2 separate regions of the Homo sapiens genome follow, and region 2 is linked to region 1. The links are contacts of gene promoters, found by promoter capture Hi-C in blood cells and fetal thymus (Javierre and others, 2016). All regions are on one chromosome and are shown on one strand. Each heading gives the region's core, a stretch centred on a gene start or on the middle of the fragment in contact. The rest is flanking DNA. Distances are from core to core; before and after follow the strand shown.

Region 1 (5,517 bases), core at 2,917-5,416:
GGAGTGAGCAAAACAGACCAAGTTCCTGCCCTCATGGGGTTTATATTCCAGTGAGGGATGCTCTCTAATGAGATGACAACTGAACAGACACTGAGTGAATAAAGTGGGTCAGTTGTGTGGAGAAACAGCGGAGGACTGTTCCAGGCCAAGGAAACTGCAGGGACAAAGACGCAGAGGTAGCAGCATGTCGGGCACACACAAAGAACGCAAAAAAGTCAGTGTGGCAGGGGCACAGTGAATGAAAGTAGGAAATAAGCTCGAAGTGTTAAGTGGGGCCCACACCCTGTTAATACTTAACAGAGAACTGGAATATATTTTAAGATTACGGAGAAGTGTGAGAGTTGGGCATTGAGGGGCAGGAGTATTAAGAAGAGTAGGAGAGACATGATCTGATTGATGTCTTAAAGGGAACACTAGAAACTGTGAAATTAGGCTGTGAGAGAGCAAAATCTAGGAGGAAAAGTTAAAAGCAAACTTTTAATTGGAACCTTTTGAAGTAGTTCACTTACAAACGAAGCTTAGGGCTGGGAGCGGTGGCTCACACCTGTAATCCCAGCACTTCAGGAGGCCCAGGCAGGTGAATGGCTTGAGCCCAGGAGTTCAAGACCAGCCTGGACAACATCACAAAACCCCAACTCTACAAAAAATACAAAAATTAGCCAATGTGGTGGCATGCACATCTGCACTCCCAGCTACTTGGGAGGCTGAAGTGAGGGAATCACTTGAGCCTGGGAGGTGGAGATTGCAATGAGCTGTGATCACGCCATTGTACTCCAGCCTGGGTGACGGAGTGAGATCCTGTCTCCAAAAAAAAAAAAAAAAAAAAAAAACCCACAAATGAAGCTTAGATTAAGCAGGATAGCCACAGAGATGTAGAGTTGGGGAATAAAACTAATTTTAGGACAGACTTTAGCTAAATATATATGGTCAAATGAATAGCCATGGATAGATGGAAGGAAAGAAGGTTGTTCTCTAAACAAGTCACATAAGAAGCTGTATCCTCAGTCTCTCACGATCCTATTTACTATTCCTAGGCACTATCTCCCACATTCTCACATGGCCAACCAACCATTATCAGGGAAGTTCCCATAGTGTGTTTACAGATCATTCAAGTTATATGACACAGATATCTGCTATTTATTTATATTTAAATAACTGTCTCCAAACAAGCATAGCAGGCTCTGAGAATCTGATTAAAGCACAAGCAGTAGTATTAATATCCCAAGAAACATTTTCTACCTAATCTTGCCTTCCTTTGCATAGCAAGCACCTTCAGATTAATAAGCTAAATGACCCAGAATGCCTCCTAGTTGAAGTCTGCAACATCGTTTCTAAAAAGCTTAAATCCCAACAAAAAGTTGGGACACAAAAGAGGTAAAAGAAAAACTGTGGCCGGCCGGGTGTGGTGGCTCACACCGGCAATCCCAGCACTTTGGGAGGCCGAGGCCGGCAGATCAGCTGAGGTTGGGAGTTCAAGACCAGCCTAGCCAACACAGTGAAACCCCATCTCTACAAAAATTAGCCGGGTATGATGGCGGGTGCCTGTAATCCCAGCTACTTGGGATGCTGAGGTGGAAGAATCGCTTGAACCCAGGAGGTGGAGGCTGTGGTGAGCCAAGATTGCGCTATTGCACTCCCGCCTGGGCAACAGAGCGAGACTCCCTCAAAAGGAAAGGGGAAGGGAAGGAAAGAAAGACTGTGAAGTCAGAACTTCATGACTGCTTACCTAGCTATCCCCCTGCTAATTTAACCCTGAAAGGATGTCTTCTTCGTGTGTTTATGGAGAGACACCCCACTGGCGAGATGTCTCTCAAGGCGCTTGCCGGATGATGAGTATGCTGACTCAGCCTGTATGAGCTCCTCAGGGCTGGAACCCGACTGCAAAGCACAGCAGGTGCTCAGTAAAGCTGCTGAATGAAAAACCAGCAGCCCTCCACAATCTCAACCTTGCTAATGTATTCCCAAAACACCGAACTTACCTTCCTAAGTGCAAAAGCGCCAGACTACCCCTTACCTCACAGAAGACCTTCCTGAACCTTTCTACCCGCCTCACTCCTGTGAGCAACAGCTGTCTGCTGTGTACAACATTCCGTGATTTACTCAAAAAGCAACTTCAGGGAATCCCTTGGGTTTTTGCTCCTTTTCTTACTCCTCTGCCTTCAGGCAATATTCACCTAAAGTTTCCCCCTCCAGGGATATGGTAGAAAAAGTAAAGACAAAAACTGGGTGCCTGCCGGGCGCGATGGCTCATACCTGCAACCCCAGCACTTAGAGAGGCCAAAGCGGATGGATTGCTTGAGCCCAAGAGTTGGGAGACCAGCCTGGGTGACATAGTGTGACCTAGTCTCTCTCTTTTTTAAGACAGGATCTTACTCTGTCGCCCAGGCTGGTGCAGTTCACTGCAACCTCCGCCTCCCGGATTCAAATGATCCTCCCACCTCCCTAGTATTACTGCGAGGACCACAGGCACCCGCCATCACTCCATTCACTCCAGGCTGGAGTGCAGTAGCACGATCTCAGCTCACTGTAACCTCCGTTTTCCGGGTTCAAGCGATTCTTGTGCCTCATCCTCCCGAGTACCTGGAATTACAGACACGTGCCACCACACCTGGCTAACTTTCGTATTTTTTGTAGATACGAGGTTTCGCCATGTTGCCCAGGCTGCTCTTGAACTCCTGGCCTCAAGCGATCCTCCCACCTCGGCCTCCCAAAGTGCTGAAATTACTAGCGCGAGCCACCACACGGGGCCAAGACCTTGTCTACACACACACACACCCCTTTTTAATTAGCCGGGTGTGGTGGCGAGCGCCCCTGGTCCCAGCTACTCAGGAGGCTGAGGCAGAAGGATCGCTTGAGCCCAGGAGACTGAAGCTACAGTGAGCCGTGACCGCGCCACTGTACTCCAGCCGGTGGGACAGAGCGAGACCCTATCTCAAAACACACACACACACCCCCCAAAACCAACTGGGTGTCAGTCACAGCTATCTCTGTAACTTTGCCTAAATTCCTTTATCAATAAAGGCAAATACACACGCCAGGCCTCCTTCACGAGGTTATCTGAAGTCTAATGCAAATGAGAAAAGCCGACCAACTGTCAGGTGCTGCCCAAATCTAAGATCCATCAAGTGATGGGTTCAGTCAAAGCTCAAAACCAACAGGAAAGGTCGTGGCCAAGCACACTGCAGTCACTCAATAAACAAAGGTCAAATAAGGAATACTGTTCTCCAATAATGGGGTGAAGAGGAGAACCAGGCTGCCCAGATCCAACAATGTCCCTGCACGATTCCTGACAGGTAACTCCCCGTCTCTGGGCCTTCTTTCCCCCTACGTGTACAATAAGGCTTTGACAATGAAGGCTTCTAATTACTGCTACATTAAGACAGGCAGACTCTGAGAGACCAGAGTGCCTTAAGCTGCAATGTCATGAAAAGTGCACGAGACCAGAGGGTAGGCACTGGACGGGGAGGCAAAGGCACAGAGGTCTGGTTTGAGCAGCCCTCTTGTGAGCAGTGTGACCTTGGCCAACTCCCTTCCCGCAAACCCCTTCCTCCCGTCTTCATCTGTACGCCTGGCCTGAAGGCTGGGGTTGCAGCAGAGCCGGAGCCGCCAGTGCGCCCGCCTGAAGCGTGGGCCAGCTCGCTGCTGCCTCGCCCCCACCCCACCCCACCTCACCCCAACCCAGCCCGAGGAGACCCACGCTCTTCCGCAAGCGAGGGATGGACCCCTTCCGGATGCAGAACGTGCCAGGACAGCAGTTTCGATTTCCTAAGGAGAAGGCTTACTTCCCCCGGCGTCCCGGCACCGCCGGCAATCAAGAGCCTCCCGTGCTGCCCTCGGGGCCCCGCGGCTGCACGCAGCACCGGCGCGGGACCTGCCAGCCCGGCTCCGCAGCCGGCCGCAGTCCCGCGGGGTCGGCATCGCGGGAGGGACGTTGTCATAGGAACCGCGCTCCGGACCCCGGCCCGAGAAGCTCCGGAGAGGCTAGACAGGAAGGCTCGCGAGACCCGCGGAGCCCCCATGCAACCACGCCCGGCCTTCCCCTCCCACGGCAGCTTCGCACGGCCAGCAGCGCCCCCACAGCTCCGTGTCTTCCCGCGCGGCTCCACAAAAAAACCCTACCTTCCGCCATGTCTGGCCCGGCACTGCCTGCAACCTCGCGAGAAGTGCGCGGCTCAACCGGGGCGGTGCGGAACGGAATCACCAAGTCTCGCGAGAATCGCGGGAGGCGCGGCAAAAGGCGGAGCCGAGGGTAGGAAAGTGGGTGAATGAAAGCGGAGGGGGTTGCTGGACTCTGGGGGAAGCGGAGAGCCGGGTTTCTTTTTACCGGGTATTTTTGAGGCTCGAGATTTATTAAGCACTGACTGAGCCCTGTCATATTCCACGTCCTTGGCAGGGCACCGAAAAGGATGACACAACGAATGCAGACTACTCTGGAGAAGCTTGGCAATGAGAGGGTCGAGAGAGGGGGTTTGTTGGTCCTTAGGTTTGTAAAGAAAGGAGAGGCTGGGAGAAAGGAGTCAGTGGAGAGGTCCCTGGGGAGGTAGGATGCTCTGCATGCGATGCAGAACTCAGGAAAACGGATTAAATTTAGACTAGAGGCAGGTCACCTGTTATTCCACTAAAACGGTAGGAAACAAGAACATGCGTGCAGATATATAGGGGGGAAGAAAATCAGGGAGATCGTTTGATGACATCGATTTTATGGGTGAAGTTATGAGACAAGGAAGGAGACCAAGAAGAGCAAAGAAACTTTGGAAGAGGACGCTGAAGTTGGAAGGCCTGGTTTCATGTGCCTCATGTATGTGTTGATGGATCACTTTTTTCTAGAACTCAGCCACCAGGCTGCAGTAGCAGATATTTTGAATTATAGCATTTATCCAGGGCTTGGGATTGCATTGCCCAAAATAAATTGAGGGTGCTATGAGACGACAGCCCAGGCCATCAAACGTGGGATACAGACTGGCTAGGGACTGATGGAGGAGCCACGAAACTGCAGGTCTCTGATAATTGAAGGCCAGTGCAGTGCAGGCAATGTTGTGAGAGCTTGGTGGTTAAAGTGGCAAACAGGTTCATAGTGAAGTAGCACTAGGAGATGAGAAAAGTCCAGGACAGGCCGGGCGTGGTGGCTCACGCCTGTAATCCCAGCACTTTGGGAGGCCGAGGAGGGTGAATCACCTGAAGTCTAGAGCTCAAGACCAGCCTGGCCAACATGGTGAAACCCCGTCTCTACTAAAAATACAGAAATTAGCCGGGCGTGGTGGTGCATGCCTGTAATCCCAGCTACTCGGGAGGCTGGGGCAGTAGAATCGCTTGAACCCGGGAGGCAGAGGTTGCAGTGAGCCAAGATTGTGCCACTGCACTCCAGCCTGGGCAACAGAGTGAGACTCTGTCTCAAAAAAAAAAAAAAAAAGTCCAGGACAGAGCCACGGAATAGAGTGGCTGAAGTGGAAGTGAGAAGGCAGGAAAATTAGATGTTGGGATTTAGAGGTAGGAAAGGAAAGGAGCATCAGGAGCTAA
Region 2 (5,125 bases), core at 2,598-5,097, 530 kb after region 1:
ATCACTGGAACCCGGGAGGCAGAGCCTGCAGTGAGCCGAAATTGTGCCACTGCACTCCAGCTTGGACAACAGCACAAGACTCTGTCTCAAAAAAACAAAAAACAAAAAAGAAAAAAACAACAAACAAAAAAAAAATCAACAAACTAGGAATAGAAGGGAACTTCCCCTGCCTAGGCATCTGTGAAAAACCCAGGGCTAACAGCACTCTCAATGATGAAAGACTTTTCCCTAAGCTTTCTCCTAAGCTTTTCCCCTAAAATGAGAAACAAGACAAAGATGTCTGCTTTTGCCAATCTATTCAACATTGTGCTGAAGTAACTAGCCAGAGCAACTGGGCAAGATAATGAAATAAAAAGCATCCAGATTGGAAAGGAAGAGATAAAATTATCTCTATTTGCAGATGATATGATGGTTTATATAGAAAAACCCTAAAGAATATAGACACAAACTTTTAGAACTAATAAATGGCCAGGCACGGTGGCTCACGCCTGTAATCCGAACACTGGGAGGCTGAGGCAGGCAGATCACGAGGTCAGGAGTTCAAGACCAGCCTGACCAACATGGTGAAACTCCATCTCTACTAAAAATACAAAAATTAGCTGGGCATGGTGGCACTCACAGGAGAACTGCTTGAGCCCGGGAGGTGGAGACTGCAGTGAGCCGAGATTGCGCCACTGTACTCCAGCCTGGGCAACAGAGTAAGACTGTCTCAAAAACAAAACAAACAAACAAACAAAAAGAACTAATAAATGGTTCAATGAAGTTGCAGAATACAAGATCAAAACCAAAATCAGTTGTATTTCTATGTACTAGCAATGAACAATCCAAAAATGAAATTAAGAAGACAATGTCACTTATAACAGCATCAAAAAGAATAAAATACTTGGGAACAAATTTAACCAAAGAAGTGCAAGACCTATATATTGAAAACTATTATAAACACTGTTAAAAGAAATTAAAGGGCCGGGCGCAGTGGCTCACGCCTGTAATCCCAGCACTTTGGGAGGCCGAGGCGGACAGATCACGAGGTCAGGAGTTTGAGACCAGCCTGGCCAATATGGTGAAACCCCGTCTCTACTAAAATTACAAAAATTAGCCTGGCGTGGTGGCAGGCGCCTGTAGTCGCAGCTACTTCAGAGGCTGAGGCAAAAGAACTGCTTGAACCTGGGAGGTGGAAGTTGCAGTGAGCCAAGATCACGCCACTGTTCTCCAGCCTGGGTGACAGAGCAAGATCTGTCAAGAAAGAAAAGAAAAGAAAGAACGAAGGAAGGAAGGAAGGAAAGAAAAGAAAAGGAGAAAAGAAAAGAAAAGAAAAGAAGTACTACAAAGCTACAGTAATAGAGACAATATGATACTGGCATAGGATAGACATATAGATCAATGAAACAAAACTGAGAATCCAGAAGTAAGTCCATACATGTATGGTCAATGATTTTTAACAAGGGTGCCAAGATCATTCAATGGGGAGACAGTCTTTTTTTTTTTTTTTTTTTTTTTGAGACGGAGTCTTGCTCTGTTGCCCAGGCTTGGGAGTGCAGCGGCCCGATCTCGGCTCACTGCAAGCTCCGCCTCCTGGTCTCAGACCATTCTCCTGCCTCAGCCTCCCGAGTAGCTGGGACTATAGGCGCCCACCACTACACCCGGCTAATTTTTTTTTTGTATTTTTAGTAGAGGGGTTTCACCGTGTTAGCCAGGATGGTCTCAGTCTCCTGACCTCGTGATCCGCCTGCCTCAGCCTCCCAAAGTGCTGGGATTACAGGCGTGAGCCACTGCACCCGGCAGGTCTTTTCAACAAATGGTGCTGGAACAACTAACTGACTATCCATATGCAAAAGCATGGATTTGGACTTCTACTTCACATCACATACAAAAATTAACTCAAAATGGACCACAGACCTAAAAATGTAAGAGCTGGCACTATAAACTTTCATGCTTCAAAGAACACCAATGAAGGACATGAAAAGACAATCCAATGGGAGAAAATATTTTCAAATCATGTATCTGATGTTTCTAGTACCTAGAATATTAAAAAGGACCCTTACAACTCAACAATAAAAAGACAAATAGAGCCAGGCACAGTGGCTCATGCCTGTAATCCTAGCACTTTCGGAGGCCGAGGCGGGAGGATCACCTGAGGTTAGGAGTTCGAGACCGGCCTGGCCAACATGGCGAAACCCCATCTCTTTAATAAAAATACAAAAATTAGCCGGGCATGGTGGCGCATGCCTGTAATCCCAGCTACTTGGGAGGCTGGGGCAAGAGAATTGCTGGAACCCGGGAGGCGGAAGCTGCAGTGAGCCGAGATCACACCAGTATAAAAAGACAAATAGAGGCCGGGCGCGGTGGCTCACGCCTGTAATCCCAGCACTTTGGGAGGCCGAGGCGGGTGGATCATGAGGTCAGGAGATCGAGACCATCCTGGCTAACAAGGTGAAACCCCGTCTCTACTAAAAATACAAAAAAAATTAGCCGGGCGCGGTGGCGGGCGCCTGTAGTCCCAGCTACTCGGGAGGCTGAGGCAGGAGAATGGCGTGAACCCGGGAAGCGGAGCTTGCAGTGAGCCGAGATTGCGCCACTGCAGTCCGCAGTCCCGCCTGGGCGACAGAGCGAGACTCCGTCTCAAAAAAAAAAAAAAAAAAAAAAAAAGACAAATAGAGCTGGGTTCAGTGGCACACACCTGTAGTCCCAGCTACTTGAGAAGCTGAGGCGGGAGGATCACTGGAGCCCAGGAGTTCGAGGCTGATATAGTGCACCATGATCCCATCTGCACTCCAGCCTGGGAAACACCGCAAGACAAACCCACCCCACACACACACCCCACCCTCGTCTCAAAAAAAAAAAATTAAACCCCAAAAATATATTAAACAAAAGACATATCCCAATTTTAGAATGTGCAAAGAACTTGAAAAAACATTGCATCAAAAAAGACATACAAATGGCCAATTATCTCATGGAAATATGCTCAGCATCACTAATCATTAGAAAAATACCAATGAAAACCACAGGGTACCACTTCACACCCACTGGAATGGCTATAACTAAAAAAATGCACAATAACAAGTGTTGGTGAGGATGTGGAGAAATTGGAACCCTCACACATGGCTTGTAGGGATGTAAAATGGTGCAGTTTCTGTGGAAAACAGTTTGTCGGTTGCTCAAAATGTTAAACATACAGTTATCATAGAACCCATAAATTCCTCTGCCAGCATATACTCCTAAGTATATAACTAAAAGAAATGAAAACATGGTGTGGTCACTTTAGCCCAAAGACTCTCAGGTTTATTTTGTGGGCCCTTTGGACTGTAACTCCATAAGATCGGTACGGCGCAAGCCACTAGGACTGTTTTTTGTTTTGTTTTGTTTTTGCTTTTGTTTTGAGACAGTCTTGCTCTGTCGCTCAGGCTGGAGTGCAGTGGCGTGATCTCGGCTCACTGTAACCTCCGCCTCCCAGGCTCAAGCGATTCTCCTGCCTCAGCCTCCCCAGTAGCCGGGATTACAGGCGCGCCCCACCACGCCCGGCTAATTTTTGTATTTTTTAGTAGAGAAGGAGTTTCACCATGTTGGCCAGGCTGGTCTTGAACTCCTAACCTCATGATCCGCCCGCCTCAGCCTCCCAAAGTGCCGAACGGTTTTTGGGTTTTTTTTGGTTTTTTGGGGGGGGGGTTTTGCTGACTTTCTTGTTTTGTTTGTTGCTTGCCACGCTGCCATCAAGTGCTCACTGTCGCAAAAGAACCGTCCCCATGCAGTACTGTACTTTTCTTTTCCCTTCTGCCGTCAACCTCGGAGTAGCTTCGCTCCCAGAAGGCCTCAAAGCGCGACCAAAGAGCGTGACAGAGCGCTTTACGACAGTTGCTTTGAGGCAGTACCGGAGGAGAAAGATGGCGGCTACCTTACTAGCTGCTCGGGGAGCCGGGCCAGCACCGGCTTGGGGGCCGGAGGCGTTCACTCCAGACTGGGAAAGCCGAGAAGTTTCCACTGGGGTGAGGAAGGAATCGGGGTTCATAGGACGTGCACAAGGCCTGACGCGATGGGAAGATAAAGCCTGAGTGGGGTTGAGAGATCTGGCAGGGGTGGAGAGGAGGTGGAATGTGTTGTGCTCCAGGAATGGGGAGAGGTACCCCGAAGATGGTGGAGTGGTGCGGTAGCTTCGTAGTGGGAGGTGGAGGGTGGGCTGAAGTTTGAAATTCTGAAATCCTGCGAGGCTAGTGAGGATCTTGGGCTTAAGTACGGGATGAGTCTTTTGAGATTTGAGGGTTGGCATTCTGGTATTCTGCGGGGTGCTGAGGCCCCTATAAGATTTGAAAATGGTTCAGCGACGGACAGATTTTGTATTTTTGGAACTAGGTAGAGAGATCATTGAGGTTTGTGTCTGCTGGAGAATGTAGACTTACTCCTTTTTCCCTTTTCCCAGACCACTATCATGGCCGTGCAGTTTGACGGGGGCGTGGTTCTGGGGGCGGACTCCAGAACAACCACTGGGTGAGCTCAGGACAGATTTGTGAAAGGTCTTCCCATCTTCCTTTTCCTTTCCTGCCTGCCAGCCCACCCTGCCTGCCTCCACAGACCACTGTGGGAAGAGAGGTTTCTTCTCTCTCTGGAGATAAAGATTTGTCCCAACTTTTGTTACTTTCAGTTCCCCTCACTCGTTAGTGGAATCCTTACAAAAGTCTGTTCTCCAGCCCGCTTCAGTTTGGATGAGAATAAGCAATACTGGAGGCCAGGCACGGTGGCTCACGCCTGTAATCCCAGTACTTTGGGAGGCCGAGGCGGGTGGATCACCTGAGGTCAGGAGTTCGAGACCAGCCTGGCCAACATGGCGAAACCCCGTCTCTACTAAAAAATACAAAAATTAGCCGTGCGTGGCGGTGCGTGCCTGCAGTCCCAGCTACTTGGGAGGCTAGGGCTAGAGAATCGCTTGGACCCAGGAGGTGGATGTTGCAGTGAGCAGAGATCGCGTCACTGTACTCCAGCCTGGGCAACAGAGCGAGACTCCATCTCAAAGAAAAAGGAAAAAAAGGCAATACTGGACATCCTATCCCTGAGCCCTAAGAGAGTGGGTAGTGATGGGATGGAGGTGGAAGACAGGTGGGCTCCTTTCCTCACTATTCTGCCATCCTGCAGGTCC

Evidence for each region. Contacts are between HindIII fragments. The CHiCAGO score rates a contact against its expected background, and 5 or more counts as called.
Region 2: a contact is called between the fragment with the promoter of PSMB6 here and the fragment with the promoter of ANKFY1 in region 1, in 2 of 17 cell types (fetal thymus and erythroblasts). The highest score is 7.3, in fetal thymus.

Annotation. Positions count from the first base shown.
Region 1 is chr17:4,259,813-4,265,329 of GRCh38, forward strand. It overlaps ANKFY1 (ankyrin repeat and FYVE domain containing 1), which reads right to left and starts at 4,167. Exons shown (of 25, transcript NM_001330063.2): 1 at 4,120-4,167. The coding sequence starts at 4,129. RefSeq lists a silencer at 3,464-3,613 and an enhancer at 4,264-4,353. The HindIII fragment of the contact is 3,100 bases long and covers 1,338-4,437 here.
Region 2 is chr17:4,792,317-4,797,441 of GRCh38, forward strand. PSMB6 (proteasome 20S subunit beta 6) reads left to right here and starts at 3,848. Exons shown (of 6, transcript NM_002798.3): 1 at 3,848-3,980; 2 at 4,412-4,479; 3 at 5,122-5,125. The coding sequence starts at 3,879. RefSeq lists enhancers at 3,607-4,205, 3,632-4,161. The HindIII fragment of the contact is 8,413 bases long and covers 244-5,125 here.